Regions from separate parts of the Homo sapiens genome. Here region 2 is linked to region 1. Evidence: promoter capture Hi-C in 16 types of primary human blood cells and fetal thymus (Javierre and others, 2016). All regions are on one chromosome and are shown on one strand. Each heading gives the region's core, a stretch centred on a gene start or on the middle of the fragment in contact. The rest is flanking DNA. Distances are from core to core; before and after follow the strand shown.

The links. The method cuts DNA at HindIII sites, captures the fragments that hold promoters and counts their contacts. A CHiCAGO score of 5 or more calls a contact.
Region 2: a fragment that was not itself captured here is called in contact with the fragment with the promoter of IKBIP in region 1 in 1 of 17 cell types (M0 macrophages); the score reaches 5.7 in M0 macrophages.

The regions. Positions count from the first base shown.
Region 1 is chr12:98,643,248-98,648,538 of GRCh38, reverse strand. It overlaps IKBIP (IKBKB interacting protein), which reads left to right and starts at 3,751. Exons shown (of 3, transcript NM_153687.4): 1 at 3,751-4,016. The coding sequence starts at 3,838. APAF1 (apoptotic peptidase activating factor 1) reads right to left here and starts at 3,249. Exons shown (of 27, transcript NM_181861.2): 1 at 2,704-3,249; 2 at 42-220. The coding sequence starts at 179. RefSeq lists silencers at 2,845-3,054, 3,375-3,574 and enhancers at 3,151-3,778, 3,779-4,405, 4,406-5,033. The HindIII fragment of the contact is 4,349 bases long and covers 2,067-5,291 here.
Region 2 is chr12:124,935,237-124,940,200 of GRCh38, reverse strand. It overlaps TRD-GTC2-10 (tRNA-Asp (anticodon GTC) 2-10), which reads left to right and starts at 483; the gene lies at 483-554. It overlaps TRA-TGC4-1 (tRNA-Ala (anticodon TGC) 4-1), which reads right to left and starts at 235; the gene lies at 164-235. It also overlaps the pseudogene RPL22P19. RefSeq lists a silencer at 441-520 and enhancers at 701-940, 1,221-1,490, 979-2,178. The HindIII fragment of the contact is 1,587 bases long and covers 1,686-3,272 here.

The sequences.
Region 1 (5,291 bases), core at 2,502-5,001:
AAAATTTTTAAGGAAGTGTGGACTGCTTCAGAGAGCTTTACCTCATTTCTTACTTTTTCCTCTTCTGATATTGTTAAAAATCCATCACTAATCATGTGATCCATGATGTAGGATGTCTTGATGTCCTTTTCCAGAGCTTCTCTATGTTGAAGCAAACAATTTCGAGCTTTTGCATCCATCTTCCCTCAGATCTTTCTCTCTCTGAGCTGTCAACCATGAGCTACAGCCAAAACACCAAAATATTTGTCAGGCCAATAAAAATATGAAAAGATACATAATCTCACTAATAAACAAGAAACGTAAAAAGAACAAAACTGATTTTTTTTCCTTGGCAAAAATTTTTAAATGGACAAAACCCAGTGCTTGGAAAGGTATGAGAAAATGGCCATTCTTATGCACTAATTGGGGAAACTAGAAAATGAATGCAATTTTTCTGGAAAGCAGTAAGATATGGAATTGTTTAAAATAAGCTTTCTCTCTAACCCAGAAATCCCATTTCTAAGGATTTACTTCAAGGAGACATTCAAATACATATGTAAAAATATCCACAAGGAGAATTAATGAGTTTCCAATCAGGTGTGGTAGCTCAAGCCTATAATCCCAGCACATTGGGAGGCTAGAGTAAAAAATAAAAAGAAAAAAGAATTAATGGAGGATGTTTCAGTGATGAACGCAACCTAAATGTCCATCATTCTGAATATAGATTTTAAAAATTAGGGTATGTATATAAAATGGAATATTATGCAGCCATTCAAAATTATGACACATATCTCCATGTATTGACATGGAAAGATGTTCATAATACTGTTGCTGAAAAAAAAAAAAAAAAAAAACAGAAACATGATCCCACATACAACACATAACGTGGGGGCCGGGCGCAGTGGCTCATGCCTGTAATCCCAGCACTTTGGGAGGCCGAGGCGGGTGGATCACGAGGTCAGGAATTCAAGACCAGCCTGGCCAAGATGGTGAAACCCTGTCTCTACTAAAAATACAAAATTAGCCAGATGCAGTGGCAGGTGCCTGTAATCCCAGCTGCTCGGGAGGCTGAAGCAAGAGAACTGCTTGAACCAGGGCGGCAGAGGTTGCAGTGAGCCGAGACCACTCTACTGTACTCCAGCCTGGGCGACAGACTGAGACTCTGTCTCAAAAAAAAAAACAAGTGTTGGTATCATATGAATATATATAGACGTTTAGAAGTTTATTCATCGAAATGTTTGAGTTACTTCTGAGTAGCAAAATTTGGGATTTCTCCCCCACCTTGTCTTATTTTTTTTTTTTTTTTAGTACAGACGGGGTTTCACCATGTTGACCAGGCTGGTCTTGAATTCCTGACCTCAGGTGATCCACCCGCCACAGCCTCCGAAAGTGCTGGGATTACACTTGTGAGCCCCACCATGCCCGGCCTCTACTGTCAATTTTTTTTAGCACACATTATCATTTCTTACAATAAAATACTTCCTTTTTTAATTAAGATTGTATAAAATAGTGATTACATTGAAGTCCTAATATTAAGAGACTTCTTGTTTTCCTTATCAAACATAAGAGTGAATAGAGCATTGTTACTATTGAGTATTAGTTCTCGTTCAAGGAGGATGTCAGCTCTAGGTCCTCCTTGCTAAACACATTTCCCACAAAGCAACAGGAAACACTTTCTGATGTGATTTCTCAGACCAGGAGGACATGAGGAAAGAATAACAGCCTTTATAGTAAAATACTTGACGTTTCTAGCAACTTTATTTCAAATATAATGCAAATTTTTCCATGGGCATAAAACCCAGTTCACAATATCTGCAAGTTTTCAAAACATTAACAGAACTTTACACAATGTATAGAGTGAAAGAGTCTAAACGGGTTTATCAATTCATTCATTCAATACACATTTGTGCCCCTCCCTATATGTCAGACACCAAGACTACAGAAAAGATTGAGTCATTTGCCTGAAATAATTCACAGTCTACTCAAAGAAGAAAAAGAGAGAGAGAGTGGGAATGTGAATGCCCGAAGTGCAAAAACAGAGCACAAGTAACTTGGAGCTCACAGAAGGGGGCAATAATTATCAAGCTTCAATGACTGTTTTTGAAGTCACCAAATGTAGCACTTGGAAAAACAGGGACGGACGTAGGGCATTTGCCTATGCTTGTCAAGGCTTACAAAATGCCCAGCAGGGGCACAAAACTGATAAAAAGTTATTGATTCGAATCAAAACTCTCATTTTTTAAAATGTTAATAACGTTTTTGTCCTCTTAAACATAAAATGTTCCTTAATTTATAGTAATGAAATTCGATGTGAAAAAACAAGAATGAATGAATTTTTTAGGTGATGTCCAATAGCTAAGCAAATAAGACACTCTGGTTTTCTGAAACTAATTTCCAATTTCACCTAGTCCTGTTAAACTAAAATATGCAAATCTTAAATACGTTTTAAAACTGCACAACTTATCTGAACTAAGTCTCAAAACCTTTTGTAACCCACAACAAAATGGAAAGCCAAAACTCTTCATGGACGTAAAACAGAAAACAGCGCACGTTTATCCACGAAAACCCCAAGTTTACTACTTCCTCATTACAGAATTTCTCTTCCTGGTACAGGAGCAGGATGGTTATCAAATATTCCATGTCCTCAAATTCTCAGTCCCTGAAATCAGCTACCAAGCCTCCAAAGAACCTGGCTCGGGGAGAAAAGCGAGGAGGTCAACTTACCCAAGCCTTTGCGCCTAGGTCTTAGTGGGGAGGGCGGCACTGCCGGGACAAGACTGGGAGACTCCAGGCCGGTGGAGGGAAACGGCAACAGGAGTTTTCCACCGGGAATTAGGGGTGCAGGGCTCTGTCTCGCCACATACCCTTCGCCCCGGGGCAGGTCCGGGCCTCACAGGCGCCTCCCCTGGATCTCTGCAGCCCCGGGGCGCACGAAGACCCCCAGGGACCTCCGAAGGTTGGCGAGGTGGGCGTCCACCCAACGCAGCCTGACCCCACAGTCCCGGAGCGCCGCGGTGAGGCCCGGCCCACGGGCCGCCCTCCGGTGGACCCCACTACTGGACACAAAGGGAGGAGGTCTTCCCGGCCTGTGGCGCCCTTCCCCCGACGGCGGCTGCACCCCGGAGGGAGCCCGGCGCTACTCCGGATGCCGCTGCGGCACCTCAAGTCTTCGCGGGTCGCCGACTGCCCAGACTCCCCACCTCTGGTTCTATCCCTTTTGCCCGGGATAGAGCAGTCACGTCCACTCGCTACCTCTTCTTCTCCGCCTCTGGACAGCGGAGCAGTCAAATCCCGCCGGATCCACCCAGCCCGGACGGCGCGCGCCCGCTTATGCAAATAAACACACCCCAAGCCCCAAGGGGCGGCCACCGCTGCCGCCGCGCACTCCTGCCACGGCTCATGCCCGCGCGCGTAGAAGTGCCCGCCTACCCCGCGGACGGGGCGTGGCTAAGCCTCAGGGACGCGCCGCGTTCCCACCAATGCCGGACTCGGGCAGCGGCGGCGCGCCCGACGTGGCGCGCGCGACCCCTTCGTCCTGCCCCTCCTCCTCGGGTCCCGTCGGCCTGCGCGCGCCCGGGAGTTTGAATTTCCTCGGATTTGGAGCAATATCGCAGTGGAAGGCGCTGTGGGTTGAGGTCGCCGCCCACCTCTCCTAGGGGAACTATGGAGCTGGCAGCTGAAAGACTCAGTGAAGCAACGAGGATGCCGGGGAGAGGGAAGGGGCTGGGCTCTGGGCGGTGCCAAGTCTGTGAGGGGGCGCGGTCACCGCCCAGGGTTCCCACGAACGCCAAGGCGGCCACGTCCTGCTCCCCCTGGTGAAGAAGCTGCCCTGGGCTTGTCGTCCTAGGGTCTCCAGACATGTCTGAGGTGAAGAGCCGGAAGAAGTCGGGGCCCAAGGGAGCCCCTGCTGCGGAGCCCGGGAAGCGGAGCGAGGGCGGGAAGACCCCCGTGGCCCGGAGCAGCGGAGGCGGGGGCTGGGCAGACCCCCGAACGTGCCTGAGCCTGCTGTCGCTGGGGACGTGCCTGGGCCTGGCCTGGTAAGTGGACGCGAGGCTGCCTGGGCCGGCCTCCTGTGGGCCCCCTGCTGTTTGGGCTCCCACCCGGCTCAACATCCAGCCGGAGGTGATCCAACCTCCCAGACCTGGGCCTTCTGTGCCTCTGTCTTGACCCCAAAGGAAGGAAACAGCCCAGCCTTGTTTTTCCCTTTCGGGCGTTTCTTGTATCTCATTTCCCCCCGTGCTGGTAGCATGCCCCTATCGCTCAGAAGGAGTTGAGGCTAAGGTTTGGGAACGAGCCATTTGTTAAGAGCTGCAGATTCGGCCACGCTTTCTGAAGCTCCCGCTACACGTCAGAAGCGTTCACGTTGTTATAAACCGTTACTTCCTGTCCGCTGTGCCCCATTCCGGGACACATCTGCCCCACCCTACTCACCCCATAAATACCTAATGGAAATACTTGCAACCTTAAAACAGATCATTATGTTTGGAGACCGAGGCAGGTGGATCACTTGAGGTCAGGAGTTCGAGACTAGCCTGGCCAACATGGTGAAACCCCATCTCTACCAAAAATACGAATAATCAGCCGGGCGTGGTGGCGGGCGCCTGTAGTCCCAGTTCCTCCGGAGGCTGAGGCAGGAGAATCGCTTGAACCCGGGAGGCGGAGGTTGCTATGAGCCAAGATCGCATCACTGCACTCCAGCCTGGGCGACCGAGCGAGACTCCGTCTCAAAAAAAAAAAAAAAAGAAAACCATATCATTATGCTCCCAAAGGAGCAAACGTTATAGTAGCAGAGCTTGGAGGAGTGCTCATATTTTGATCACCGTGCATGCATTATGAATTTAAGGTCTTTTATTAAGTAAGTTACAGATTGAATATGGTAAAGCTACAAAAACATAGCACTTGTGTTCACTTAAAACTAACCAGTTGCAGTTTTAAAATCAGGTAAATGGCGATATATTGGTGTCATTAGGAAAAATGAATATTAGAAATAACCTTAAAACCAACTCGTAAAAAAAGAAAAAAGAAAAAAACCAACTTGTGAATTTTATTTTCCCAGCCTTTTTTTTTCTGGCGGGAGGAGGGAATAGCCCATTTCATTTTAATAAGATTGGCATCTTAATAGAATTTTTCTCCATTTTTCATTCATGTGTAAAGTTATTTAGTAAGACTGTTGTTAATCTTCCAGAGTGATAGAATTTTAGAAGAGACCCTGGACATCTAGACATTTTTTATGCTACTACATATGGAATTATACTTTACTGGTGACTCATCCCAAATAGTGTATTTTTCAGAGTTAAAAGATTTGTTACGGC
Region 2 (4,964 bases), core at 1,230-3,729, about 26 Mb before region 1:
TGGAGGGGCCCAGGGCATTTGTGATTAGGGGCAGGGAAATGTGCTGGCGCAGCCCCTTCCAAGGGAGCTTTCTTCGCAGGCAGGTTGTTGAGGGTTGCCTGGGTCCTCTTCCAAGCTTTTGTAACCACGTGACTGTAATTTGCCCGAAAAAGGCGGAAAAGTCTGGAGATGCCGGGGATTGAACCCGGGGCCTCATACGTGCAAAGCATGCGCTCTACCACTGAGCTACATCCCCTACCCCTTGTGTTGGTCTTTTCTGGGGATGGTGATACAGGAAGTGCCCTTCGCTCTGCTAGTTCAGGTGCCTTAGCTTCGGAACGTGCAGTGCCTCCAGCCACTCAAAGGGGCCTCTACCCGCCTTGGATAAGCCCAGCAGCCAGGGTGCCCGGCGCGGAGCCTGGATGGCCCGGAAAGGTTAGGAACGATAGCGAGAGAATGGTATGGACATAAGAAGGGAGCTGCAGGGAACACAGTACGGCTTGTCCTCGTTAGTATAGTGGTGAGTATCCCCGCCTGTCACGCGGGAGACCGGGGTTCGATTCCCCGACGGGGAGGCCGGGTACTTTCGTATTTTTAAATACAGAGGGGAGACTTTGTTGGCGATGCTTTTCGGTGTTCCAAAATATACAGAGTAGGTATAAGAGGATGTGCACATCGCAGGTGTGCCTGCAACACTGAATTAGGGCCCTTACGAGGGTTCCTTCCCCTCCAAGGAGAGTTCGAGGGAAGAAAAAACAGGGTGCTCGGCAGTGAGCATAATAGGTTCATTTTTATGTCAAAAAATTATAGATATGCACACAAATGTGTGAGTATATTAATGTTTCTGATTGGCATCACGGTAACAACAGCAGCAGGAGCAGCAGCCAACAATATACAGTTCTTAACGTGCGGGGGCGGTATTGGTAAGCGCTTTAGTGTTCACGCATTACATCCTCAAGGATCCTACCAACGAGCCGTTTTCTCCACATCAAACTGATGAAATACAGGCTCAGACAGAGGCTCCGTGGCCCGCCCGCGGTCACATCAGTCACGATCAACTGTAGACATAGGGGGCCTTTGGGGAGAAGGACTCGGGTGGTGGGTGGGAGGAGTGACTTTTTGACTTTCCATTTCTGTACCTTTCTGGACTTTTGGAATTCTATTTTTTTCTCCCTTCTTTTCTTTCCTTTCCTCTCTTATTCGATTTTTATCAAAATGATACGTCTAATTTTTAAAAGTCAGATACAACTGAAGAATATTTATTCCTTATGCATGAGGTCCCTATTGCTGTGTTTTGACTTCATTGGCTGCAGCCAGACCTCACAATTTAAACTAAAACCCGATTAGCTAACAGTTCAAAAATTTTTTAAATAGGTAAAAGCAGTGAGGAACATAGGAAAAAAGGATGTTCCTTACGAAAGGACTTAGAAAAGTAATAATATTCCTAAATAAGGAAGAGTGTAGGCTGCAAGCTGGGACATGCCTGGGCACGTCCAGCACGAATATTTTGACAAAGGTACAAGGACATAGAATGTACTACGTGCCTGTGAGCATGTTTAGCACAGATACCGAAGTCAGAGTGTGCTTATTCTGTTACATTTGCTACCTAAGGCTTAACAGAGAGTTATTACTATAAAATAAGAAATTTGAAGAAAGTTAGTTCTGAGAAAAGATATTAATAACATTTATGATTTAAAGGGGAAGCTTTGAAGAGGAACTTTTGCTTTCTACATTTCCTTCCCTTTTAATTTTTATAATTTTTCCTTTTTAAACTGTTTTAGCATGTTTTGGCTTAATTGTTCTACTTGAGCTTTTAAGAGGAGAAATCTCTTAGAATAAGGTGGAGGAGAGTTAAGATAGGTTTTAGTAGTTTTGGTAAGAACTGTCGTTATTAATTTTGTCATTAGCTTCCAGAGGCATGGTATAACATCCGAGAAGGAGAAGTGTACCTATTACGGTAGTAATAGAAGTGAGAATTGAGGTTATAGTTTCCTTCCGTTGACCAAACCATCGTCCTAGCCAATTTGAAATAGGGTTATTAATTCTAGAATTTCTAGTAAGCTCTTTAGATAAAGCAGTGAGACCTTGTAAGGTTCTGGTTATACTTCTGTTAGGAGTCGTGTTATTTGGGATGAAGGTTGTACACAACATTGGGTTTTAATTATAACACAAACACCACCTTTCTCGGCTAATACTACATTTAAAGCCATTTTATTTTCCTAAGCCATTTTAGTAGTGGATCCTAACTGTTCTGCTATTCCTTTAATAGCATCTTTAAGTATAGTTAATAAATTGTTGTTGATAGTAATAAATATTGTTTATCCAATTTACATTCTTATTAATTGTTATTTGTGGGAGAAGGGATTTGAACCTCACAGCTCTCTGATTTCTAGCTTTGAATTTATCTGATATACCTCGTGGAACGTCAGTTGTATCTAAATAAACATGGGGGTCAAAGGACCTACGAGAGGCTTCTCTTGTTTTACGATGTCATGTTTTTTTGTTTGTTTGTTTTTCTGGTTGATGAAATGCCAGGGTAAAAGGGATAGCTAACTGAACTAGAGCACAAGTACCGCTCCAATTATTTGGCAAAGTGTCCAGTAAAGGTTCTCCAAAATACCACCATACACCCACTCGGGGATGAATAAGGGCTGACTGATGGGTCAGCTCTTGGAAGTGCCTGACCTCACTGCATTCTGTTAAGTTTCTTTCTTTCTTTCTTTCTTTTTTTTTTTCCTCTTTTTGAGAGGGAGTCTAGCACTGTCGCCCAGTCTGGAGTGCAGTGGCGCGATCTCAGCTCACTACAAGCTCCACCTCCCAGGTTCACGCCATTCTCCTGGCTCAGCCTCCCTAGTAGCTGGGACTACAGGCGCCCGCCACCACGCCCGGCTAATTTTTTTGTATTTTTAGTAGAGCCGGGGTTTCACCGTGTTAGCCAGGATGGTCTCGATCTCGTGACCTCGTGATGCGCCTGCCTCGGCCTCCCAAAGTGCTGGGATTACAGGCGTGAGTCACCGCGCCCGGCCGTTTCCTTGACTTTTAAAAGAAAAATTAGGTTGGTGTCCTGGAACATGGACAATGGCTATTTCTTCCGGTAATTGAAGATTATTAAGAACATGAACAACTAGTGTTTCATGAGCAAGTTCCTTACCTTTACTGTTAAATAGTTCTCGCTCAGCCTAAATTTTTCCAAATGTATGAGATACTCTGAAAGCATATTTAGAGTCAGTATAGATAGTTCCTACCTGGTTCTGTAAATATTTTAGGGCCTAAGTGCGAATAACTTGCAAGCTTGAGCAGACCAATTATTTGGTAATCTTCCTGATTTTACTTTTTTTAAGGTCTCTTTATCAATTACAGCATATCCATTATGTTGTGTCCTTTCAATCATTTAGGAGGAGCCAGGGTGGTCTCAAACTCCTGAGCTCAAGCAATCCCCGCGCCTTAGCCTCCCAAAGTGTTACGATTACAGGTGTGAGCCACCTCACCCAGCCTAATATCTTTATTATAGAAATAATTTTTTAAATCACTAAGAAAAATTCAAAAATATCAATAGATCACAATCAACAGGCAATGAATTTACAGAAGAGGAAAAATGATTCATTAATAAAACTTACAGAAAAGCTTGGCTCTTAGAAGTATTTAAATAAATGGAAGTAAAACACAAGTTACTACTTTCAACCCATGATGTTGTGAAAGTTGTCAGAATCAAAATGAAGTCATGGATGTTAAGTAAGTAAATAAATAAATAAATAAACCCTGACAAATAGAACCAGGGAAGGCCATGAAGAGAGGGTTCCCGTGCTTGCAGGCCTGATAAAAGACTCTAGAAAAACCACAACCTTGCACAAACGCCTTCGCGACCTTACACAAAAAAGACTACTGCAAGGACATCCGCCAAGCAGCTGCCTGTCCAGCCTCAGACTACGGTCACCTCTGTTATTGATCTTTGCAGCCAACCATAATTATGTCAGAACAATTATGTAATCCTCCTCCTTTTTTTCCTGTAAAAACATTTGTCTTCCTGCCGGGCGCGGTGTCTCACGCCTGTAATCCCAGCACTATAGGAGGCCGAGGCGGGAGGATCACGAGGTCAGGAGTTCGAGACCAGCCTGGCCAACATGGTGAAGCCCCGTCTCAACTAAACATACAAACATTAGCTGGGCATGGTGGCGGGCGCCTGTAGTCCCAGCTACTAGGGAGGCTGAGGCAGGAGAATTGCTTGAACCCAGGAGGCGGAGGTTACAGTGAGCCAAGATTGCACCACTGCACTACCAGCCTGGGTGACAGGGAGAGACTCCATCTCAAAACAAACAAACAAACAAATGTTGCCTTCTTTCTGCCTCCGCTACCGCCATGGCGCCCATGAAAAAGCTTGTGGTAAAGGAGGGCTAAAAAAAAGGAAGCAGGTTCCAAAGTTCACTCTTGATCGCACCCACCCCGTAGAAGATGGAATCATGGATGCTGCCAACTTTGAGCAGTTTTTCCAAGAAAGGATCAAAATGAACGGAAAAGCTGGGAACTTTGGTGGAGGGGTAGTGACCATCGAAGGGAGCAAGAGCAAGACCAGCGTGACATCCAAGCTGCCCTTTTCCAACAGGTATTTGAAATATCTCACCAAAAAATATCTGAAGAAGAATAATCTACATGATTGGTTGCGCGTAGTTGCTAACAGCAAACAGAGTTACGAATTACGTTACTTCCAAATTAACCAGGACGAAGAGGAGGAAAACGAGGATTAAATTTCATTTATCGGCCGGGCGCGGTGGCTCACGCCTGTAATCCCAGCACTTTGGGAGGCCGAAGCAGGTGGATCACGAGGTCAGAAGTTCGAGATCAGTCTGGCCAACATGGTGAAAACCCTGTCTCTACTAAAGATACAAAAAATTAGCCGGGTGTAGTGGCGTGCGCTTGTAATCCCAGCTACTCGGGAGGCTGAAGCAGGAGAATTGCTTGAACCTGGGAGGCGGATGTTCCACCGAGCC